Linked DNA regions of Homo sapiens: all the other regions are linked to region 1. Evidence: promoter capture Hi-C in 16 types of primary human blood cells and fetal thymus (Javierre and others, 2016). All regions are on one chromosome and are shown on one strand. Each heading gives the region's core, a stretch centred on a gene start or on the middle of the fragment in contact. The rest is flanking DNA. Distances are from core to core; before and after follow the strand shown.

Evidence for each region. The method cuts DNA at HindIII sites, captures the fragments that hold promoters and counts their contacts. A CHiCAGO score of 5 or more calls a contact.
Region 2: a contact is called between a fragment that was not itself captured here and the fragment with the promoter of PRDM13 in region 1, in 3 of 17 cell types (total B cells, naive B cells and fetal thymus). The highest score is 17.7, in total B cells.
Region 3: a contact is called between a fragment that was not itself captured here and the fragment with the promoter of PRDM13 in region 1, in 3 of 17 cell types (total B cells, naive B cells and fetal thymus). The highest score is 13.5, in total B cells.
Region 4: a fragment that was not itself captured here is called in contact with the fragment with the promoter of PRDM13 in region 1 in 1 of 17 cell types (total B cells); the score reaches 5.3 in total B cells.
Region 5: a contact is called between a fragment that was not itself captured here and the fragment with the promoter of PRDM13 in region 1, in 1 of 17 cell types (total B cells). The highest score is 5.5, in total B cells.
Region 6: a contact is called between a fragment that was not itself captured here and the fragment with the promoter of PRDM13 in region 1, in 1 of 17 cell types (naive B cells). The highest score is 5.5, in naive B cells.
Region 7: a fragment that was not itself captured here is called in contact with the fragment with the promoter of PRDM13 in region 1 in 1 of 17 cell types (total B cells); the score reaches 5.2 in total B cells.

What each region holds. Positions count from the first base shown.
Region 1 is chr6:99,605,583-99,609,153 of GRCh38, reverse strand. It overlaps PRDM13 (PR/SET domain 13), which reads right to left and starts at 2,321. Exons shown (of 4, transcript NM_021620.4): 1 at 1,976-2,321; 2 at 282-413. The coding sequence starts at 2,119. The HindIII fragment of the contact is 6,161 bases long and covers 930-3,571 here.
Region 2 is chr6:100,468,583-100,472,153 of GRCh38, reverse strand. No RefSeq gene overlaps it. Among named protein-coding and RNA genes, the nearest start is that of SIM1, 5.4 kb to the right of the region's middle. The HindIII fragment of the contact is 2,343 bases long and covers 867-3,209 here.
Region 3 is chr6:100,450,981-100,454,551 of GRCh38, reverse strand. SIM1 (SIM bHLH transcription factor 1) reads left to right here. Exons shown (of 12, transcript NM_005068.3): 3 at 708-790. Among named protein-coding and RNA genes, the nearest start is that of SIM1, 12 kb to the left of the region's middle. The HindIII fragment of the contact is 2,455 bases long and covers 825-3,279 here.
Region 4 is chr6:100,433,401-100,436,971 of GRCh38, reverse strand. The region is part of intron 9 of SIM1 (SIM bHLH transcription factor 1); the gene reads left to right. All of the region lies in intron 2 of SIM1-AS1 (SIM1 antisense RNA 1), which reads right to left. Among named protein-coding and RNA genes, the nearest start is that of SIM1, 30 kb to the left of the region's middle. The HindIII fragment of the contact is 5,285 bases long and covers 1-3,571 here.
Region 5 is chr6:98,808,048-98,811,618 of GRCh38, reverse strand. No RefSeq gene overlaps it. Among named protein-coding and RNA genes, the nearest start is that of PNKY, 22 kb to the left of the region's middle. The HindIII fragment of the contact is 2,510 bases long and covers 538-3,047 here.
Region 6 is chr6:98,849,516-98,853,086 of GRCh38, reverse strand. LOC124901364 (a long non-coding RNA gene) reads right to left here. Exons shown (of 2, transcript XR_007059690.1): 2 at 2,822-3,513. Among named protein-coding and RNA genes, the nearest start is that of POU3F2, 17 kb to the right of the region's middle. The HindIII fragment of the contact is 412 bases long and covers 1,725-2,136 here.
Region 7 is chr6:98,949,115-98,952,685 of GRCh38, reverse strand. No RefSeq gene overlaps it. Among named protein-coding and RNA genes, the nearest start is that of FBXL4, 3.0 kb to the right of the region's middle. The HindIII fragment of the contact is 1,419 bases long and covers 1,051-2,469 here.

The sequences.
Region 1 (3,571 bases), core at 1,072-3,571:
TTTCCTGGGTAATCGGTCAAAAAGCAACTGAGAAGAAAGGTTCAAATCCGGATTCTGATGCTGTGTGACCCTGGAGAAGCTACTGGAGCTCTCTGAACCTCACTTCCGTCATCCTTCAAACGGAAAAACAATAGTAACTACCTTAAAGGGTTGTCGAGACGTTTAAATGAGACGTCTAGCTAAAGTACTTTGCTCTTAATATTTTTGGCCACCGCAGGGACGGTTAGGTAGACTGAATTGGCGGTGGGGAGTGGGGGGGTGTGGAGAGAAGCCCGCAGTACCTGTCCTCCGGGTAAGTCTGCAATAGCTTCCAGAGTCTGTTCCTGGGAGTTTCTGGCTGCCCGGATTAACCCTATCCACTCCAGAGGGGAGCCCCCCGACTCGTCCACCAGCTCCCCTCTCACCATGCGCACCTGCAACACAAGCAGTGGTCGTTCTCCCCCGCACCTTGGCCAGGCCCACAACCCAAACAGAAAGTTTATCCTCCACCCCAACCCAACACAGGAAAGTGGTTGTTTTTGGTTTGGCCAGACCACTATGGGCTACTGGGAGGAGGAGAATTCCTTAGGACCTTGCTTCGGGGAGGGAGAAAGAGGAAAGTCTACCTATGCTAACAGTACTCCCACTTCCCTGCGCCCCACCTTGACGACACGGGGAGGGGAGAGGGGTGTTGAGAGCATCCTCCCTGAGTGCTTAGGCACATCTTGTACCAAGTTGTCCCCTACCCCAGCTCTCCCATTTGCAGTTCTGAGAGCAGCCGTAACACCACGGTAGAGACATTTCTAGGTCAGTCCCAGGGCCCAGAGCGTACCCCCGACAAACAAACAAAAAAATTATCTCATGCCTCCTGTATTCTGTGTGCATCGCACCTAGTTGCCTGTGAGCCCTGCAGCTAAAGTCTCGGAACAAAGCCCAAGCGGGGAAAAGCTTGCCCGCAGCTGGCAGGCCATTTAAAAGCAATTAAAACGCGTTTAAAGAGGAATGCGCGGTGGGCACCAAACCCCGCTTTAGACTGTAGTGGGGGGCGTGATTGCAGGAGGAGCGAGGTGCAAGTCCCGCTGGCTGGACACCGGAGCTTTTTACTAGAAAGCTCCAAGCAAGGCAAGCTAAAGCCAAGGAAGCCAAAGTCCTTTCTTCTACCCCAGACTTCTGCCTTCATTTCCCGGTCGCTGTTTGCCGACCTTTGGCTCCTGGGACGCCCCCAAAGCGGGCGAGTGCTATAAGTCTCTCTGGTCAGGGGTCGCGACGGTGTGTGGAGTGTGGGAGTCAAAGCTAGTGGTTTGGCCCTGGCGCCTCCCGGTTGGGCCTCTGGACTCTCAGAGCCCCGCTGCAGACGCTCTGACCCTGTGCCCCGCGCGAATGGGCGCGCCTCGCCCTTGGAGCCCGCGTCAGAGCCAGTACCTTGCTCATCCTCTCTCCATATGCCGCATACCCACAAGCCGACATCGGCAAGGGAAAAAAAAATATCTGAGGAGGTTCTAGGAACTGAGAGCCTCCCAAAGATTTTTTTTTTCAGGAAAAAAAATTACTTTAAGGCGAAATTAGGCCTCAAATTAACATATTGAAGGGCAGAAGGGAAGAAAGGGTCTCGATGCCCTGAGCCCCCAGAAAGAGGGTGCTTTTGCAGAGAGAGCTGCGGACAGCGTGCGGGGGTGGGCTTCTGGCTTCTGACTGAGGAGACCCGAGAGCGCAGGGGAAAACACAAGCTGCGAATGGTCCCGGCACCTACAGCGCTCAGTGCACCCCACCCAGGGCTGTCGCCTCTCGGCCACATCCTCTCCTCTCAGCCCGACCCCGTCCAGCTCTCACAGTTAAAGAGGCTACTTGCTCAGAATAATAGGAGTCCCCTTCCACCCGGCAGAATTAGCAGGTAACGACTCAATCACTCCCTTCCTCCACTTTCTCTCGTACCCCTTTCCCGGGTCAGGGCACTGAGAGGCGAATGGCAGTGGGCAGAGGTCTGAATGGTCAATACCTTTTTCTTAGGCCCGGGCTCCCTGCGGTCTGACAGGTACTTGCCCAGCTTGAAGGTACCAGGCACCGGTCCGAGGCGCAAGCCGGCCGGGATGCAGCAGTCGGCACTCACGCTGGTGGCTGGCGCTCTGGCGGCTCCGTGCATTGTTGCCGCCGCCACCAGGCAGGCGCTCGGGTGCTCCAGGTCCTTGGAAGGGCGCGAGTGACAGAGCTGGAGCTGCGCGCTAGCCAGAGAGCCGCGCCCCGACGTGCGTCCTCCGCCCGCGGAGTGACGCGGGCGGGCATGCACTGCGCCTTTTCAATCGGGGCGGGAGCCTTTTGGCACCGCTAGCGCAAGGGCGCGGAGTTTGGTGAGAGAGTTGCGCTGCGAAGCAGCTGCAGAGTCCCACCCGAGAGGGTCACATGGAGTGGTTCCCTCAGCCCCCTGCATAATCGAGGCCGCTGAATGGCTAGCACACAATGGTCCAGGCGACCTTCCCATTCCTAAAAATCCAATTTGTCAAGGGCGAAGAAAAGGCACTGGTGAATCAAAGGTCCGGCGGGACCATTAATCCTCAGCATGGGGTATTGTCCTCCAGACAGTTACGATATTTTAAGTGACAAATCCACTGTATAATTTCTCCATAAATTTTACTTCCTTTTATTGTTCCCCGACAAACCAGTTTTGGGAAATAAGTGACTACTTTAAGTCTACTTGGCTGATTCCTTTGAGCCTTGATCTACTTCAAAGATTTTTAATTCTCTCCCCTTGGCTTTATTGTAAAGGAGATTAAACAAAGAGATGGAGACTGTTTGGAGGACTTGTTAACTACTATTGATTTCTGGCGTGTGCCATACAGAAATTAGGCAGGTACTTGATGGGAAAACACCAGAAAATACCTACACTTTTTAAATAACAACCATATTACCATTTCAGGGGATTGGGTTCAGGCCAGTCGTCTATTCAGAACCGCTTTAATTCTCACTTCTGTCCCATTTCGTCCGAAAATATGATGAAGCCTCCAGACCAAGTTGAGAAGGGGAGGTCAACTGCTCATCACTTTTCTCGGGCACACCCCGGGCCTGCACTTTCTCTGGAGAATGGGAAACAGCCCCAGAACCAACAGTTTCGAATGGGGATCCTGCGCCCCGGTCCGCAGCCCAGGGTTGAAGAGGAAGAAGTTCTACCAGTGGGTTATTGATCACGTCCCCTAGAAGATGTCCTTGGACTAACTTCCCTAAAACCAGCAACCTGGACTTTTCTATTAAAAAAAAAACAGTAAACAAAAACGAAAATCACCGCAATCTGTTAAAGGTTGTAGAGAAGAGGGGCGAGGTGGGCGTTTGGGACAACTCTTTCTTACACCTACTTTGTGAACTAACAAGACGTTGTACTTCAGAGTTAAACCGGAGAGCTACCCGTTTTCTTTTAGGGAAGCCTCCAATTGGCGTGAGAACATTTATTTTCATAAATAGTAGCCAAGTAATCAAGTTCATCAGATATTTGTGATTTCTGCCGGCACCTGCCGCGTGCTGCTAGTTCTGAGCACAGCTCCCCAAATCCTATGCAGCCAGCACCGGAGCCCGATGCAGTTCTTCCAAGAGAGGCCTGAGTGGT
Region 2 (3,571 bases), core at 789-3,288, 860 kb before region 1:
AAACAGATTGATCAAATATCAACTTGGGACAACTGAATTTCAAAACACAGAATCCAGAAATTAACCACTGTTTTAACATATGTACAATATAATTGATTATAATTAGACAGGAGATCTGTTGAATGAAGATACATTAGAATTATATTTGCATATTTATCTTATTCTGTGTTTTCTATGAAAGAATATTAAATGTTTCATGTGAGTAAAATTGTTAGTAGATTACTCCAGAACCTTGAACCTGTGTTTGTCATTGTCTCGACTTCCCAGTGTTGACCAGTGAGCTCACCCCAGGGATTCAAGAATGGTTCAACTGTATTTAAAACCAGACCCCACCTCAACCTCCTACCCAAGGATTTACCCACCTCAGAGCCAAGAGGGCCCCCACCCTCAAATCATTTGGGTTGACAGTTTCCAGTAGAAAAATGCAAGCAGCACTTAGGCATATGAAAATATGCCAAACCTCCCTAATAACAGAAAAAAATTAAAAATCAATTTTCATCTAGTAGACTGGGAAAAAAGTTAATAATGTGCTTCATTCGAAGATTGTAGGGAAACAGTCACCCTCACACATTGCTGATGAGAGTGTCAATTGGCAAAACTGTCATGGAGGGCAATTTAGCAATGTTTATCAGGAGTGCAAATCCATGTATCCTTCAATATAGCAACTCCATTGTTGGGAATTTGTCCCGTGGGTGTACTTGTACACAGGTAAATGACATGTGTACAGTTATCCACTGCAGCATTGTTTGTGAAGCAATAATGGGAAACAAACCTAAATGTCCTCAGTGGGTGAAAGGTTAAATAATTTATACTGGTATTTTCTGGAATGCTATACAGATGTTTAGGAAAGAAAGGATGAAGAAGCTTTCTGTATACTGTCATGAAAAGTGAAAAAAAATCAAGGTGCAGAACGGTGTGTGTAATATAAATCTTAATGTTTGCTTGAAACTCCAGAAGAGTAATAAGAAGCTACGTAGTTGTATAGCTGGAGACATAAATTGGTAGCCCAAGATCCACTTGCTTGGTTTGCATAGTGTTTTAAAATTGGATTTCACTTAATAATCTGGATTTCTAGGTAAGGAAAATAAGTGAAGCAGGCCAGGTGTTAAGATAAGAAATGGTGCTGGTAGTCTAATCGGTCTGGATTTTCCACTCGGTTTTAGGGTGGAGGGACTCTGCAGTGGGAGCCCTGAGGAGATGAACAGCTTCATTCCAGAAATGGAGCTGTGACTCATGGATAGAGATTGTCATCCCAAACCTCTCTCATCTGAAAGGGGCTTAGGAACCACTGCTGGGAAAAGGCATGCCCAGCATCCATATCATCCCAGGTGTACCTAGGAGCAGCACTGACTTATCCATTTCACACAATAGTCACAGTGCCTAGGGCCCATGTAGTTTTACGGCCTGAGAAAAATGTTTCACTGTTTATTTCTTTTACCATCAGAAGAAAAAAAAATGTAAGAATAATGAATATATGATAATGAAACCAATCTGAATTACACTCATCTGTTTACCAATGCAGTTGCAAAATATAATTTTAAAATATTTTCTTATGCAGGATGGAGCCATAAAAACATTACAAAAGTGCTTAAGGATCAACAAAGCTGTGTCATAACGTTGACCCTGCACAAGAGGAAGCCCTTGCCACTTGAGGGGAGGCCTAGACCACCCTGGCCCAATGCATCCAGGCAGGGCCCCCTCCTCTAGCGACCACTCCCCCTGCACCAACATCACACACACACACACCTTGAACCCTTTATGCCTAAGTGGTCTTGAAAAATGAGGGAACAGGTTTGAGGCCAAAAGGAGAACCAATGCTTGTCTGCTATATTTCCAGTGTGTCCCACCCCTGGTTGACTGAACCAAAGTCTCTGGACTTATTTCCAGCAACATAGCTGAGAACCCTGGAACACTGAAACATTGTGAGAGCACCCTGTGTATTTCCCTGCTCTTCTGAAGCCAAACTCCCCACGGAAGTTTGCCCCGGCTTCCTCTCCCTTTTTTGACACTAACCACTTTCCTAAGGAGGCAGGAATAAGCCATCTTCAGAGACCCCATCCTTATCACAGAGGACAGCCTCACTCCTGGGCCTCAACTAGACCGCCCTATCATTTTATGCTGTATGTTCAAGATCCCACAATACTAGGGACATCGCTTCGAATATTTTCCCTCCTCACAGTCTTCTACTTCAGAAGCAGGCTGAGAAAAAGCAGACTAAGGCAATGGTTCTTAAAGTGCGGTTCCCTCACCAGCAACATCACCTGGGAACCTGTTAGAAATGCAAATAAACTATTGGGTTCCACCCCAGATCTACTGAATCATAAACTCTGGAAGTGAGGCCCAGCAATCTGTGTTTTAAGCAGCCTTCCAATCAATTCCCATGCACGCTCAAGTTCCAAAACCGCGCTAACAGCAAAGGCGCCCAGATATTCAAGGGCAGATTCCCATGTCTCGGGCCCAGAGGCGGTGAGTCTAGGGTGGGACCCAGGCATGTGCCCCAGGCTTCCGAAGCACCGGGTCTCCGGCCCAGACGAGCACAGTGGTAATTTCCCGGGGTCCTGGGGTTGCGACGCGAAAGCGGGAGCAGCTATTGGAGGCTCACGACTTGGAGACGCAACCACCTCAGCGGGGCGGCGCCCCCAACGGGGTTAAGCTGCGACTGTCACTGAGTCTCGGGGCGGGTCCACGGCCCCTCACTGCGCAGCCCAGGGTGGCGCCGGCAACCCTCGCTCTGAGCTCATCTTTGCTCCCGCTTCCCCGCGTTCGGAGCTGCCTAGTGGCCTGAGGCCCTCCGCTCCCTTACGGAATGCCAATTCCCGATTCGGACAGGGATTTCCTATTCCTAAATCAAGGTGGGGCCTTAGGGTTTATATTTAAAAGCCGCCCTCCTCCCCCACCTCCATGCCAAGTGACCCCGAGTTTGGTCTGAAATTCGGGAACCGATTTAAGAATCAAAGTGTTTTTCAACCCGAGTTTCCAATCCAGTGTTCATCTCCAGAGTTAGAACGCCTCAGTTGAGTGCCTGTATTCAGCGTTGCTGAAATTTATGCACACACAGCGTCCTCCGCTCGATTTCTGGAAAAGAAAAGTGTGAAAGCGCAGGCACCTGGAGCGGCAGGCACCCACCTGCTCCCATCCTCAGAATGCACAGAATCAGACCTCTTTCCAGCTAGCAATTATATTTTAAAATAATTATATTCTTTAAAGCTTAAAATTTATGTCTGCAAATACAGTGGTGCACAATTCAAGAAGCACTTATTTCCCAGCGGCCGTTCAAGGTTATATATTAGACCACGGTTTCCAATATCTGGAAAATTAACCAGAATATTTAGAGAAACTATATGAAACCCTTACTTGTATTCGCCAATCTCATTTTCCAACTTGGTGCATTTTCTTTTTTTCTTTCTTTCTTTTTTTCCAGTGTGTAACCACTGAAGTGAATTTGGGGGTATTTCACGGGTCAATTTAGGGAGACAACTGAAAAGCAGTACCTAGGAAAAGGGTTTTTTTATATTTATATACATAAAATATACTTTTCAAAACGTCCTGATCAGACAAGTAATATTTACCA
Region 3 (3,571 bases), core at 803-3,302, 850 kb before region 1:
TCAGAAAAAGCCTATGCGGGTTTTGGTGGTAGGGGGGTGGGTAGGGGGCATGAGCTGTGTGTAAGGCAGAGGGCTAGGAGGGGAAATGAATAGGAAGATGGGTTGAACAGGGATGCTGGTAAACGTCAGGCTGGAAATCATCCGCCAGGGAACTAATTTTTCCGAAGGCGATTAAAGCCAGAAGCCAAGGGGAGGAGAGTGGCTAGAAGCCCCGCAGCCAATCAGAAAGCCCGCCAAGGACCGGTTGGACCTGGCCGGTCGTCTCAGGTCGCTGCGGGCTGGCAGTGGCTTTCGCTTGGTGTTAGGACAAGCTCGGCCTCGGGAAACGGATGACGATGAAAACTTTGGGCGAGAAGCAGAGTGCCCTTACGCCCCGTAAACACACTGGTGAACCTACATGAAAGTTATCGGTGGGGTGCAATGTTGGAGGCTTTTTCCGAGCCTGGGCCACTTGGAGTCCTACCAGGGGGCCCTTGGCCTGAGAAACCAGTTTTAGTTTAGAAGAGGAAATCTAACCTCTGCTGAGAAGCTGACAGGACGGACTGAAATGTACACGCTCCCATCCCCCGCTGTCCACTTTGAGAGGGATCCCCTATGGTATCCAGTCAAAGGGGCCGGCACTCGGGTAATACAGTCGCGGGACTTGGTCCCAAACTGCCTGTCAGGTCCGGGTTCAGTGGCTACAGGATGCTTCTGTGTCTCCACAGGGCTCGGCGAGGCGTGGGGCCACTCAAGTCGGACCAGCCCCCTGGACAACGTTGGCCGAGAACTGGGCTCCCATCTGCTCCAGGTACAGGTGCAGGTCTTCCGGCAACACATAAGCTTTGAGGGTCTGAGTGCCTGGCCCTGAGTTGAGCTTTTAGTTTCTCAGAAAACAAAAACAAAAAAAAAACAAACAACCCCCCCCACAAAAACAGGGATCCGGACTGCACGTGGCCCTCTCAGAGCCCAATAGCTGCTGCAAAGTAAAATTTTAGCTTTTGCAGATGATGCCTCAAGAGGCTGAGAGGGAGGCAAGGTGACAAGTGAGAAGTTGGGTTTGGAATGTAGCCCAACGAGGCCCCTAACCAAGGGAGGGGGCACCATTTGTCTCCATTGGGCTGAGGGAACTGGAACACCCCAGATCAGGCAGAAGAGGCAAGGCCACAGAACCATCCCAAATGAAGGATTTCCAAAGGAAATAACAGGAATCTGGTAAAAAGACCTGTCAGTGCTTTAAGCCCACGTCTTTCCAATTCAGCTACATCTGCAACTGGTTTTGTGTCCCTGTAGTGCCCAGGCTCCCTCTTCTCTTCCTATTGCCTTTCACTGCAAGCCAGCCCAGGCTGTGTGCAGGACCTTGCTTAAGCACATACACACCCCCAGATAATGAGTTTAACCAATGCTAGGCTCCCATTACCTTGTGGTTTGTAGTGCTCACAGTTTTAACTTGCTCTTTGCCTACTTAAGTCACAGAACAAATATTTTAAATTGCAAAACCCCGGTGGCATTTTTAGATTTTGCGCTTGTCCCAACCCTGCAACATCATCATTATTATTATTATTCAAGCCCACTGGGAGCTACTCTCCTGGAAGCCTTGAACCTAAGCAGCATTTGGGGAATCTAAGCAAGTTCTCCCTGTGGGCTGGCATGAGTGGCATCTCTTGACAGGAGCTCCTTTTCCTACCACTACCCTATACCTTTCTCCTTCCAAGACACCAAGAAGATTTTAGTTTTGTGGGACAAAGGAAGGGGTTGGGCAAGCATTCTCTCACTGACGTGGCCTTCACACCTTTGAATTTATCTAGAAAGGCACTTAACTCTAAGACATCTTCTATCAGATTTCCCTGTGTCCTTCCCCCAATATTTTCATATTCCCAACTAATTTTCCTCAGAAACATAAACAAGAAAACAAAATCCAAACTGTCCCTGACACTTTCCAGCTCTTGCCAATTTATTTCCTCTTCTTCATGCCACATTTCTGGTAGGACTGACTTACATTCCCAATTTCAATGGCCCACCCTCTCCCCATTTACTCCCTCATCCCTGCAGTCTGGCATCTCTCCCACCCATCATGCTCTTCACTGGCTTCACCACATTTTGATAGCAAGAATTAGATGCTCATCTCTTATCCTAATGAAGCTCACTCATTCCGCAAATTTAGGAGGGGCAATCGCATGCCAGATGGAAAGCCCTGCTCTCATGGAGTTTGCATTCTAAGGAGAGCAGCTTTACAAGCCCACACTGGTACAGTGTATAGTTTACCAGGTGGTATAGGTGCCATGGAGAAAAATAAGGAGGAGAGGAAGAAAGAGTAGTGCCTTTTAAAATAAGAGATGGTTGGAGAGGGCCGCACTGAGAAGGTGACATTTGGACTAAGACTTGAAGGAGGTGACACTGATGATTTAACATTCTCTCCTTCCCTCAGTTTCTAAAATAGCACTATTTCCCAGATTCTTCTCTCTCTCTGCCTGCTCCCTTTTGATTTCCCCACCACTGGTTGGCCTGCAAATGCTGTAATGTCCCCTAGGTTTCAGCTCTGTTTCTCCTGTTACAGCTTCAAGGCCACCCAGGTAATCTCACCCAACACCAGCCTCTCAACTCCTTTCTCTACATGAAACCAACTGGTTTCTCTAGTCTAGACTCTCCGTCTGAGCTCCAGATTTTTGTTTCCTACTGCAAACTGGACACATCTAAATGGAAATCTGCATACACTTGAAGTTTAGCATCTCCAAAACAAGGAGGCATTATCTCCCTCCCCCAGAATTCTACTCATACAAAATCACACTAAATCTTGGTTAATGATGTCACCTTCTGCTTAGTGCCTTCACTGAAACACTGAAGTAAACCTCTCTCTGCTACCAGTGAAGTCCATATCCAGAACCATCTTTGAATTAGATTCTCCCCTTTCTATATTCCCCTTGTGACTACCCCATTTCAGGCTTGACCATCTCTGCTGCAGCTGCCTTCTCTGATCTCCTCTTCCCCTCCCCTTCCTCCTCAGATCACTGTCTGCATTCTGCAAAACAAAATAAAATTAAACAAATGCCACATCTAAGCATGCTATTCTCCTGCTTAGAAACCTGTTAGAACTCTAGTGCTTACAGAGCAACTCCAGGTTTCTCAAATTGACATTTCAAGCTCCAAAATCTATTGCAGGTTTAGCTCCTCTGCAGTCTCTAGTACACCAAATTCATCACCTCAGAATACACTAGATTGGTCCTATCCCCAGACCCAGCAGACTTGGCCACTTCATTCCTTCTGCCTAGAATGCTCTTTCTCTCTTCTCCAGTCCAAGCTTCCTGTTCAAGGTTCTGCTCAAACATCAGCTCCCCTAAGGCCTGATTGTCCCCCAGGCCTCCGGTCACTCAGGCTCTGGGCCCCCTGCCTATTCAGCACTACCTGTTCAGCTATGTGGTCACTATATCTGTCTTCAGGCCAGTTGCTCCTGTTGGACTTCCTGCTCCTTGAAAGCAGGGTCTGACTCCTCTTGTCTCTGCCTGGACTGAGGCCTTATTCACAGAGATAGAGACAGTGAAAGTCTTAAGACTTTCCTTCATGGAGAGCCTGTCAGTTTGATGTATCAATGTAA
Region 4 (3,571 bases), core at 554-3,053, 830 kb before region 1:
GAAGTCAGGAGATCGAGACCATCCTGGCCAACATGGTGAAACCCCGTCGTTACTAAAATACAAAAAATTAACCGGGTGTGGTGGTGCGGGCTGTAGTCCTAGCTACTTGGGAGGCTGAGGCAGGGGAATTGCTTGAACCTGGGAGGCAGAGGCTGCAGTGAGCCAAGATCGTGTCACTGCACTCCAGCCTGGTGACAGAGCAAGAGGCCATCTCAAAAAAAAAAAAAAATACCAAAAACAAAAACAAAAACAAAATACAAAAAACAACGACAACAACAAAAACCTGTAAGATGCGGGTAATAATGGGTTCTACCTCATAGAGTCAATTGGAACATTTAATGAGATCATGTGTAAGGTTGGTGGCCCTGTGCCCAACACAAAGTAACACTGAGTACATGTGAATTATTACAGTGGTTATTTTAGTGAAATTGAATAAAATAATTTTTGTCTTGCCAATGAACACAAAATAAATGTGTGTGAGTCTTTGGACCAATGGAGGGAAAGCATGAGTCTTAGGAAGCAGATGGTGGCCCAAGAACAAGAAATCAGCAATTATCTTGATGCATCTGGAAAGATCCTCCTTCAATTGGTTAGGACTAGTGGCCTTTAAGCATTCATAAAAGGCTTATTGAACACCTATTATGTGCCAAGCACTGTGCACAGTTCAGAGGACATCAAAATGAGTAAGACAGTGTCTGTAGGGAAAAGAAATAAGCATATGTCCAAGCTGTATCCTAGCCTGATTTCCCTGTGGGCTTGCTGGTAACTGAGATGCCTTTATGGAGGAAAGTACGTCCACTCACAATTAGAAGGAAGAGGGCCTAAAGCACCTTGGCACTGTTTGGGTCACTCCTGAAAAATGAGCTCACAGGTGTGGTTAGACTGCTTTCTGGCTAGATAGTAGGTAGGGAGGAGAGACAGTGGGAGGAGTTGGGCACCTTGGGAGGGGTGTGTGTGTGTCTGTGTGTGTGTGTGTGATGTGTATGGTAAGGGAGTTCATGACTGGCAGCAAGGTAACTGGCTACAGATTAAGGAGTTCAACTTTAACTCTCTCAAGGACGTTACCCAGGGTGGGCCCTGTTTATCTCATTGCCTCAGGGAGAGGGAGCAGTTGTGTTGATTTTTGTCCTGTTGGAATGATGTTTTGTCCTGCTGCAGATGGGATTTTTCAAAATTTTGGGGTTTGAGTTCTGATAGGATTATGAATCTCAGTGAATTTTTAAATTAAAGAATTCTAGATTCAAAATAGTCTTTGCAGATGTATTACATTTTGAAATATGTTGTCAATTATTTTGGATGTTTATAATTTTTTTTGCTTCTTTTTTCTTTTATAAGAGGTAATTCTCAGGTATTGTTCCTCTGTCTGGGAGAGACTGGGAGGTGGTTGTTAGCTCTAAGCTGAAAGAGGCGTGGCACATTGTTTTGTTCATTGCATGCTTAGGAAGGCTGAGGAGTAAGACAGACTCACATCTGAAGGGCGGCTGCTTTGTGTGAGAGGCCAGAGAAGCTAAGTGACTCAGCCAATACAACATAGCTAGTGAGTGGTCCAGCGAGCATACCAACCCAGGGTCTGGACTCCAGCATCCACCTGCTTTCCTCTTTGGCATGCTTTCTTTAAGTGGATAATGCTGTTTTAGGGTGAACCATATGAAATTGTCACTTCTATACATTAAAACAGTTCAATATTGGCAATTTCATATGATTCCACCTAATACTTACATAGTCATTTATGACATTTTGCCAATATTTTGCATGGTCTATGGACAGTTTACTCTCTTTTTTAATATGGGGTCTCCACAAAGTGACTCAGTTTCTTCAGAGTTTGGGTATACTTGGGACCTGCTCAATTGCCAGTCGATATCCTGAGCCCATCTCTTCTTCACTAATTTTAGCATCAACAGTCATGATGTTTTCACAAAACAACAATCAACGTGTCACCCACAGAAAATTATTTTATTTAGAACATTTAATATTTTACGAGGATTCAAATGGGAGCTGCTGTCTTTACTAGAAGAATATTTTTTCTTTGATTGATTGCTAAATGGATAGGGCCTGTGAATGGATCCTTCCCCCACCCCCGCTCCAGGGATTTCTTGTTCAAACAGAATTTGTTGTATCCGCATCAGTAAAGCGTGCTAATATGGGCTGATGGGTAGATTGTAGAAATAGCCTCATTATATTGAACTGGATATCATAATGGTACCCATTAAGGTGGGATTCTCTCTGTGTTTGTGCTTTTAAACCCAAGTCCCTTGCCACTTTTTACATCTCTCCAAGAATAGCAACATTCTCTGGTAAAATGCGATCTTAGAATGTGCTGTCTCTCACCTCTTCCTACTGAAAACCGTTAACAAAGGTAGAATCCCTGGTTCTGAGCATTCTTACAGGTTTGCGGCTGCTCTTCAGCCATTCATTTTACTCTCGTGCTTGTAATGACTATAACGTGTTCTTGTGACTGAACCAGGAGCTTCACTTGTTTCAGTACCTCCCATTAATTGATATTGGTGTCCAAACAAGCGACAGGCAAAGAGCTGCTTGTTATCAGATCAAGCCAAATGCAACACAGAGTTTTTCATTTTAATTTTGATAGGCCGTTAAGAGACTAATAGTGTTGGAAGGCACAGCATTTATATTCACTGTTGAAATCTTACCACAGTCCTGGCGTAGTGAAGTATTTGTTGTGTTGGATTTGGGTAATGGACCCTTGCAGGGTTACAGCTCAGGAATGCTAGAAGAATGAAGCCCACAAAGGGGAGGGCAGAGTGGGTGTCAATTTCATTCCTCCAATTAGAGCAGTTAAAGAAATAGCAACGTGCAGGATAGCATTTTATTGTGAAGGCTAATTGAAAACCAGGAAGAAAATATTTACAGACGTTACATGGCACTTTACAGAATAATCTCTTTTCTATTTGTGTCTCTTCTTGGTTGACTCAATAGGACCTTCATTACAAACAAATTTCTATCATTAGAATCAGCTTAATCTCTGTTGTTGTAATTAAGGTAACGGTAAGAAATGTTTTAGAGTGTAGTCATCTCTATGACAAGCTGGGGATGGTTCATGCATTCACTCAGCAAATATTTCCCTAGTGCCTACTGTGTGCCAGGCCCTGGTAGGGCTACAGTGTGGCTGAAAGAGACAAAGTCCCTACCCTCATGAAATGTAAGTTTTTAAATATATATGTATATGTAAAAAATATACATTATATGTGTGTGTGTGTGTGTGTGTGTGTGGGTGGGGGGGTGGGTCTTAATCTGTTGCCCAGGCTGCAGTGCAGTGGCAAGATCATGGTTCACCGCACCTCGACCTCCCAGGCTCAAAAGATCCTCCCACAGCCTCAGCCTCCGGAGTAGCTGGGATGGCATGCATGTGCCACCACACCTGGCTAATTTGAGTATAAATTTTAATATACTTATAAAGTACTTATAAAGAAATAAAAAAGTCATATAATATCAGAAAGTGATAGGAGAAAAATTAAGCAGGACAAAGAGGTAGGGATGGTCAGAAAGGTTTCTCTAAAGATTCATAAATGAAGGAAGGGAGCCAGCCATGTGGAGTCCTACAGGGAGAGTA
Region 5 (3,571 bases), core at 543-3,042, 800 kb after region 1:
ATTTGGATATTAACTTTTTCTGAAGTCTCCAGCAGACTATGTCTATAGATTGGAACTGAGTGATATGTTCATGCCTAAACCAGTTGGTAGCAAAGAAAACAGGATCATCCTAATTGTATTCTTAATCAGGATTTACCTTGAATCATATAGGGAAGATGGACAGTTGAGTTAAATTGGGACCACTTCTGGTAAGGAGGAAGGGTGGTTGCTTGTTGGACAAAAACGAATGACTCCCTGTGAAGAATAAAGAAAGTGATGGAGAGAGAGTGAGAGAGAAAAAAATAGTTCACGAAAATCAAGCTCAGAGATGATTCTCTATGGGAACAGATGGGACTTACAGCTATAGGAAGCAGGTGGCAACAGAGGAGATGGACTTTATTTTTAGCCACCCTAAGTGGGCCTCTATGCACATCAGGTCAGGACTGTGGGTAAAACAGCAAGGGCCTCTGGAAGCCTCCTTGTACTGGTCATTGAGTTATTGTCAATTTTGTTTTTTCTTTTTAAAAACAAATTAAGATGATTTTTACAATTAAAGCTTACAAGCTGTGGGTGCAGTGTATAAGTAACTTGCTTAGGTTAGCATGATAAATTGGATTATTCCCTTTCCCCAAAGAGCCTGGAAACAGAAAGGGGAGTGGTCTGGAGTGCATGCCCAATTTTCCCCATCAGCCATCCATTCATCCATCCATCCATTCTTTCCTTCACAAATACTTATTGAGCACCTATGTGCCAGGCATCATTTTAAGCTCTATAGTTAACCCTGAATTAAGTATGGAAAGTCTTTGTCCGCATGGAATTTAAAGTCAGTGGGAACGGACAATAAACAAACAACCAAATAAATGTATAAAGAACAGATGGTTATAAGTTCTATGAAGAAAAATAAAGCAATGTAAAGTAGAGGTGTAGTGAGTTTGGTATTTTATATGATGTGCTCAGGGAAGGTCTTATTAAAAGAGTATTTAATTGGAGACCTGAAGAAGGGAGTGGTCATGAGAATATCTAAGGGTAGAATGCTCCAGATAAAGGGAAAAATATGAAGATCCTGAAGTAGAAGGTTGCTTGGAGGCTAAGAAGGACAGTGTGATTGGAGCAGAGAGGAAGAAGAGAAGTAACAGAGGATGAGCTCAAAGAAGTAACAGGAGCCAGATCATACAGGGCATTGTAGGCCAGTGGTTCTCAGAGTGTGGTCCCCAGACCCACAGCATCAACACAACCTGGAAACTTGTTAGAAATGCAAATGTTGGGCCCCATCCAGGCTTTCTTTAATCAGAGCATCTGGGTGGAGTCTAGAAATCTGTTTTAATAAGCCTCTAGAAAGTTTGAGAACGAGTGTTGTAGGCTATTGTAAAGATTTTGGATTTTATTCTGTGTGGAATGGGGTTATATTGGAGGGTTTTGAGCAAAAAACCCATAATCAGATTTTCATTTAAAAATGATCACTCTGGCTGCTTTGTTAAAAATAAACTATAGAGAAACAAAAGAAAGAAGCGAATAAATCAGTTGCAGATTACTATAATAGTCTGAGCAAGAAGTGATGGTGACTTGGGCTAGAATGGTGGTGACAAGTGGTCGAATTCTGCATGTATTTTGAAGTGAGAGTCAATGGGAATTGCTGATGGATCATATGTAAAATAAGAGTTAGCAGGTATATAGGTATAACTCCAAAGTTTTTAGCCTGAGCAACTGCAAGGATGGAATTGCTCCTTATTGAGATGTGGAAACTGTAGGGGAAGAAAGTTTAAGGGCTAAAATCAGGAGTGCATTTTGGTCATGTTAAATTTTAAAATGGCTATGCCAAGCAGGCAGTTCAGGGGAGTGGTTTGAGCTGGAGATAAAAACTAGAGAGTCGTCAGGGCATGTGTGATATTTAAAACCATGGCCTGGATGAGATCATCTAGAGGATGAGTATAGATGGAGAAGATGCCCTAGAGCTGAGATCTGAATATTTAGAGGCTGGAGGAGGTGAGGAACTAGCAAAGGAGACTGAGAAGGAGTAAACAGTGAGATTGGAGAAGAAAGGAGAAATGGTGCCCTGGAAACCAAATTCAGATTCAAGAAAAAGAGAGTGAGGCACTTGCCTTGGGTACAAAATTTAACAGGGGAACCAAGAAATTCAGTAATCAAGATAATCGATATCGTAATATAACATTAAACAATACAAATTATTAAAAAATCTATGATAAAATGTAGGGAATTATCTCTTATGAATCCCTTAAAACTTGGAGGATATCAGCCTGGAGTTGTCATTTTCATAAATTTTTTTTTTTTTTTTTTAGTTTTTTTATTCCTGAAAGTAAGTGGCTATTAGGATCATTTGTCATTTGATCCTAGCCATTTGATTTTTTTAGTTTAGTCAAATTAGCAAATGTCATAATTAAAATATAGTCAAATTAAATGTTTTATGTGATATGTTAGCTAAATAAATATACACTGATTAAATTTTTCATATTTCAGAGAATGATCTTAGTGACAGGTAAACCCAACCAGAGCGTGTGCCTTGGATGCTCTTTTTTCTTCCTTATTTTCTGCTATTATCATAGAAACCCTGCTATGAGAATGGGCTGAGGAAGTGCAGCCAAAGTGAGTCAGGGCCAGCCTGCCCATGGGAGCCTGAGCATTTCAAAGAAGTTGGAAGGTAGGAGCAAAATCTTAGGGCTATGCTAGATGACAATGCGGGGCATACACAATGCTGAGGAACTTACAGAAGTGTCGCAGGGCTAGACTAGTACAGACACAAAAGTTCTGCTTGAGAAGGGTCACAAACTGCTAGCCTGGGTTTCAAAGTGCCAGAATATACATATATTTTTTTGGAAACCACTAAGATGTCCATCTTTAAGGGAAACTATTCAAATCTCCGGTCTCTTAGAGATGATTCATCTCTAAGTCATTTTATACTTTTGAAATTTGTCAGTGATATAATGGGAGCAAAGTTTTTCCTGAGAGAAGACATAGGCTGTTTGTTTCTTGCAAAGGAAGTGAAAAATGAGGAAACCATCTGGCATTTGCTCAAAATATCTAGATAATTGAGGCCAAAGTATCTTTAAGCTTAATTTTACATCAATGAACATCCTTTATGACCCTTCCACGTTTGCTATGTAGAAAATATCTTAAGGAAAGAGTCTGAAATTTACTAACAAGAATTTTGAAATACAATGGTTATTAAGACTATTGGATTGTGTTCTCCATTATCCCTAGCAATTCTGCTGTCCTTGAATTTAATATATGTGTGTATATATATACATATTAATTAAAGAGACGTTCTTTAAGAATGTTTATATATTAAAAACTTCTGCTTTTATTAAAAATTTCATAGCATTGATCAGATATCTTCCACAGGTGATGTGATCTCTCTGCTATCTCTCAAAATTTGCATTTCAAAGCTGATTGATGGACTTTGTGAGGTGAAGTTGATGTCCTTTCTGTACAACAGAGTTGTAGGATGAATCTCTGCTGAAGAAAGATTATTTACTCCCGAGGTTATTTCATAAATTTAGTTTTGCATTTCTAAATTGGAATCATATGTTTTCTACCACATCTGAAAGCTCTGTTATTAAAGCTCACATTTCTTGGG
Region 6 (3,571 bases), core at 681-3,180, 760 kb after region 1:
CCGTGTTAGCCAGGATGGTCTCGATCTCCTGACCTCGTGATCCGCCCATCTCGGCCTCCCAAAGTGCTGGGATTACAGGCGTGAGCCACTGTGCCTGACCAAAAATTTTAATTTCTAACTAACATTTTCAGGTGAAAAGTTTTTTTTTTTAAAATATGAATGCTATGTAGGGAGCTTCCAAGAAAAAGAAATTAATGACCTCTGGTTAGCTTTATTTTAAATAAGAAGTGGAAAATAGAACTAACTTAGGTTGACTATCTATAGCACAGAGAAGAAGAAGAGAAATTATGTGGAAGTCAGTTCATGCTCTGTTTTTATTTTTCCCCTAGCTTTATTAAGGTATAATTAACAAATAAAAACTGTGTACATTTATGGTATATAACATTTTGATATATGTATATTTTATGATATGATTACATCAAGCTAATATATCATCCATCGGGAGGCCAAGGTGGGCGTATCACGAGGTCAGGAGATTGAGACCATCTTTGCTAACACGGTGAAACCCCTATCTACTAAAAATACAAAAAAAAATTAGCCAGGCGTGGTAGTGGGCGCCTGTAGTCCCAGCTACTCAGGAGGCTGAGGCAGGAGAATGGCGTGAACCCAGGAGGCCGAGCTTGTAGTGAGCTGAGATCGCGCCACTGCACTCCAGCCTGGGCGACAGAGTGAGACTCCATCTCAAAAATAAATAAAAATAAAATAAAATATAAATATATATATTCCATCACTTCATATAGTTGTTTATTGAGGTGAGTATATTTAAGATCTAATCTATTAGAAATTTTCAAGAATACAATACATTGTTATTAACTGTATTCATCATGATAAACAATAGATCTCTGTAACTTAGTCACCCTTTCTAACTGAAACTCTACCCTTTAACCAACATTTCCCCACCCCTACCTCCAGCCCCTAGCAATTACCATTTTACTCTCTGTTCTATGTGTTCAACTTTTTTAGATTCCCCATGTATGTGAGATCATGTAGTACTGTCTTTTGGTGCTTTGCTTATGTCATTTAACATAATGTTCTCTACATTCACCCATGTTGTCACAAATGACAGGATTTTCTTCTTTTTTAAGGCTTTGTAGTATTCGTGTGTGTGTGTGTGTGTGTGTGTGTGTGTGTGTGTTATTCCTTTATCCATTGATCCATTGATGGACACTTAGATTGATTCCATATCTTGGCTGTTGTAAATAATGCAACAATGAACATGGGAGTGCAATTATCTCTTTGACATACTGATTTTATTTCCTTTGAATATATATCTAGAAGTGGAATTGCTGGATCATAGGGTAGTTCTATTTCTTTAGTTTTTTGAAGAGACTCCATACTGTTTCCCATAATAGCTGTACTAATTTAATTTCCCACCAATAATGGACAAGGGTTCTCGTTTCTTCACATCCTCTCCAAAACTTATTTTTTCTCTTTTTTATAGTAACCATTCTAACAGGTGTGAGGTGGTATCTCCTTGTGGCTTTAATTTGCATTTTCTCTGATGATTAATGATGTTGAGCTTTTTTTCATACACATGTTGACCATTTATATGTCTTCTTTTGAGAAATGTCTATTCAGGTCCTCTGACCATTAAAAAAATAGGCTGTTTTCTTGCTACTGAATTGAGTTTCGTATATAATTTGGATATTAACCCTTTATCAGAGGTATGGTTTGCCGATATTTTCTGTTGACTCTGTTGATTGTTTCCTTTGCTGTGGAAAGCTTTTTAAGTTTGATGCAATCCCATTTGCCTGTTTTTGCTTTCCTGCCTGAGTGTTATGGTCAAATCCAAAAAAATCATTCTCCAGACCAATGTCAAGGAACTTTCACACTATTTGTTCTTCTAGTAGTTTTACAGTTTCAGGTCTTACATTTAATTCTTTAATCCATTTTGAGTTGATGTTTGTATATATCGTGAGATACAGGTCCAATTTCATTTTTCTATGGGTGGATATACAGTTGTCCCAACATAATTTATTGAAGAGACTATCCTTTCCCCATTGTGTGTTCTTGGCACCTTTGTGAAAGATCAATTGACTGTAAATGCATGGATTTACATATAGGCTCTCCATTCTGTTCTATTGGTCTATGTGTCTGTTTTTATGCCAGTACTATACTGTTTTGATTACTTAAGCTTAGCAACATACTTTGAAATCAGGTAGTGTGATGCCTCTAGCTTTGTTGTTTCTGCTCAAGATTACTTTAGCTATTCAGGCTCTTTTGTGGTTCCATACGAATTTTAGAATTTTTTTTTCTATTTCTTTGAAAAATATCATTGGAATTTTGATAGGGATTGCATTGAATCTGTCAATCATTTGGGGTCATATGGACATTTTAACAAATATCAATTCTTCCAATCCATGAACACAGGATATATTTCAATTTATTTGTGTCTTCAATTTCTTTCATCAATGTTTTATAGTTTTCACTGTACATCTTTCACCTCCTTGATTAAGTTTATTCCTAAATATTTTATTTTTTGGTTGCTATTATAAATGGGATTGATTTCTTCATTTCTTTCTCAGATTATTTTTTGTTAGTGTATAGAAATGCTACTGATTTTTTGTATGTTGGTTTATATTCTATAACTTTATTGAATTCATGTATTAGTTCTAAAAGTTTTTTGATGTAGTCTTTGGGGTTTTCTATATGTAAGATCATGCCACATGCAAACAGAGACAATTTTATTTCTTCCTTTCCAATTTGAATCCTTTTACTTCTTTTTCTTGCTTAAATGCTCTGGCTAAAACTTACAATACTATATTGAATGAAAGTGGTGAGAGTGGGCACTTTAGTCTTGTTTTTGATCTAAGAGGAAAAGTTTTCCATTTTTCATATGCTCTTTATTTAAAACCAGGTAATCTCAGTTACTTTACACTATATTCAAGAGAATATTGACATATTTGTATTCCACTGGCCCCTATTCAAATTGCCTTCCTTTTTCCTAACTGAAATCAATACAGTATACCACTCCTATCTTTTAAAGTCTAGGAAACCTTAGAAAGGGGTTTTTGTGTTTTAGGAAGTGATATTAAGTATAAACAAATGTCTTCTCCCCAAACATGACCTCTCATAGTTTTAGTTGACTGAATGTGTTAAACAAGGAAAGTTTAATGTATGTCTAAATTTCTTTAAAATAGACTCCTTTCTTTAGCTGTCTTAGAAACAAATAAACATTTGGATGAAAATATGTGGCAGAAGATACATGAAAAAGAAGTGATATGTCTCAAGCAGGTCTCATTCTCTAGCCTGGGTGCTGTTCTTCTATAAAAATTTCTCCACACCATGGATAGCACCTACTACAAATGAAAAATGTGAGACCTCAGATTCACGTACGTTTTTTCTTCCTTCACATTCTTGCAGTTACAGAGGTACCATTTATTAGCATGTATTCTTAATGAAATTTCCTGAATTGAAATTAAGTTGTTTTTACTAGGGTCAGCATTAGAGGTATTTCAGTAAATAGTTAAATGTTGCTGAAAAACCTGCTATCCTGGTGACTTCGTGATATTCCTGGGAGGGGGTGGGGGAGATGGAGGAAGGAAAAGAGAAATAAACTAGTAAAATTAGC
Region 7 (3,571 bases), core at 511-3,010, 660 kb after region 1:
GCAGGAGTAAGGAGAAGAGATTTAGGAGAGAATCTGGGAGGTTTCTGAGTACTGGTGATTATCTACTTTTTTGTCTGAATGGTGAATACAAGGGTATGTACACTCATCTTTTGCATTCTTTTCTGAATATACTTTATACTTAAATAAAAACTTATTTAGAAGTTATCTAGGATTAAGAAACCACTGTTAGACTGAATTTGAGCATTGAGTTGATGCTTATCAAATCAATGAAGTCTCACCAGCAACCATAAACAGATCAGTCTTATTTACTTATTATATTATTTTTTAATCCAGTTTTAATTTTACAATAGATTTAGATTTACAGAAAAGTTGCAGTGAATAGACTGACATTTACAGAAGAATTGCAATGACAATACAGAGAGTTCCATACATCACTCATCTAGTTTCCCCTTATTGTTAAGAGCTCATGTTACAATAGTATGTTTATTACAACTAAGAAATCAGCACTGGTGTGTTATTATTAAATAAATTCTACTCTTCATTCTAATTTCACTAGTTTTTCTACTAACGTCCTTTTTCTGTTCCAGGATTTCATTCAAAATATCATATTAGATTTTTTGAAAAGATAAGTAAAATCGACAAACCATTAGCCAGACTAAGAAAAAATGAGAAATGACCCAAATAAACAAAATCAGAGATAAAAAAGGAGACATTACAACTGATACCAGAGGAATATAAAGATCATAAGAAACTATTAGGAACAATGATATGCCAACAAATTTGGTAACCCAGAAGAAATGGATAAATTTCTGGACACATACAACCTACCAATACTGAATCATGAAGCTATAGAAAATGTGAACAAATCAGTAACAAGTGGCAGATTGAATTAGTATAAAAGGTCTCCTATTAAAGAAAAGCCCAGGACATGATGGCTTTACTTCTACCAAACATTTAAATAACAAATTGCAATTCTTCTCAAACTCTTCCAAAAAACTGAAGAGGGGGAAATACTGCCAAGGTCATTCTATGGGGCAGGCATTACCCTGATAGCAAAATCAGGCAAGGACACAACAAAAAAACAAAGCTTATAGGCCAGTATCCCTGATGAATATAAATGCAAAAATCTTCAACAAAAGAGATCACTAACGATGGTCAAGAAGGATTCATAGCAGACATGCAAGAATGATTCAACATAAAGCAAATTAATAAATGTGATACATCACTTTAACAGAATGAAGGACAAAAACCACATTGATCATTTCAATAGATACAGAAAAACATTTGACACAATTCGTTATTTTTCTCTGATAAAAGCTCAATGAATTAGGTATAAAAGGAATGTACTTCAGTACAATAAAGGCCATATATGACAAGTCCCCAACAGCTAATACACTGAATAGACAAAAGTTGAATGCTTTTCCTCTAAGAACCAGAACAAGACAAGGATGCCCGCTTTCTCACTTCTATTCAACATAGTACTGGCAATCCTAGCTAGAGCAGTTAGGTAAGAAAAAAATAAGGCATCTAAATTGTATAGAAGTTAAACGGTCCTTGTTTGCAGATGATATGACCTTATATATATAGAAAAACCTAAAGACTTTACTAAAAAAAACTGTTATAATAAATTTAGTAAGTTTGCAGGATGTAAAATCAACATACAAAAATCAGTAGCATTTCTATACACAGAAAGCACACTATTTGAAAAAGACATCAAGAAAACAATTCCACTTACAATGACTACAAAAACAACCCATAAAATAAAATACTTAGGAATAAATTTAACCAAGGAGGTGAAAGATCTGTACACTCAAACTATAAAACCTTGATGAAAGAAATTAGAGAAGATGCAAAAAATGGAAAGATATTCTGTGTTTATGGATTGGAGGAATAGTTAAAATGTCCATACCTACCCAAAGCAATCTACATATTCAATGCAGTCTCTAACAATATATCAATGATGTTCTTCCCAGAAATAGAAAAAAAAATCCTAAAATTTGTATGGAACCACAGAAAATCCTGGATAGAGAAAACAATGTTGAGCAAAAAGAATAAAGCTGAAGTCATCACAATACGTCACTTCAAAATATATTACAAAGCTATAGCAATCGAAACAGCATGGTAGTGGCATAAAAACAGACACATTAACTAATGGAACAGAATATAGAGGCCAGAAATAAAGCCACACATCTATGGTCAATTGCTTTTTTTACAAAAGGTGCCAAGAACACACAATGGAGAAAGGACAGTCTGTTCAACAGTGTTGGCAAAAACTAATGTCCACACGCAGAAAAATGAAATTAGAACCTTATCTCTCACCATATAGAAAAGTCAAGTCAAAATGGATTAAAGGCTTAAATTTAAGACCCAAAACTATGAAACTTCTAGAAGAAAGCATAGGGAAAAGTCTCCATGACATAAGTCTGGGCAAGATCTTATCTTTTTGGTTAAGATCTGAAACACATAGGCAACAAAAGTGAAAATAGACAAATGGGATAACATCAAGCTTAAAAGCTTCTGCATAGCAAAGGAAACAATCAAGTGAAGAGACAACCCACAGAATGGGAGAAAATATTTGCAAACTATTTATTTAACAAGGGATTAATAACCAGAATATTTTATATAAGGAGCTCAAACAACTCAATAGGAAAGCAAAAACAAAAACAAAAACAAAAACAAATAATCCAATTAAAAAATGGGCAGAAGATCTGAACAGGCATTTCTCAAAAGAAGACATACAAATGGCCAACTGGTATATGAAAAAATGCTCCTTATCACTAATCATCAGATAAATGCAAATCAAAACAATGAGATATCTCACCCCAGTGAGAATGGCTTTTATCAAAAAAAAAAAAAAAAAAAAAAAGCCAGGAACAAAAGATACTGGTGAGAATGTGGAGAAAGGGGAACCCGTGTGCACTGTTGGCAGGAATGAATATTACTAGAGCCACTGTGAAAAACTGTTTGAAGATTCTTCAAAAAACTAAAAATAGAACTACTATATGATTCAGCAATTCTACTATTGGGTATAGATCCAACAGAAAGGAAATACATATATCAAAGAGATATCTGCACTTCTATGTTTATTGCAGCACTATTTACAATAGCCAAGATTTAGAATTGACCTAAGTGTCCGCGCAACAGATGAATGGATAAAGAAAATGGGGTACATATACACAATAGAATATTATTCAGCCATAAAACCCTCCACAAAATCCTTTTATTTGCAACAAACATGGATAGAACTGGAGGTCATTATGATGAGTGAAATAAGCCAAGCACAGAAAGGCAAATAATGCATGTTCTCACTCATATGTGGGAGTTCAGAAAGTGGATCTCAGAGACTGAGAAGTATTGGGGGGGTGGGCCATGGGGGAGCAAGGGGAGGTAAACATACACTTAGAAGAAACATACACTTAGAAGAAATAAGACCCGGTGTTCCATAGATCAGTAGGGTGACTACAGCTAACATTTATCAATAGTACATGTCAAAATAGCCAGAAGAGAACAATTTGAATGTTCCTAGCACAAAGAAAAGATAAATATTTAAGGGGATGAGTAACCCAGTTATGCTGATTTGATTACAGAAATGAATCAAATTATCACATAT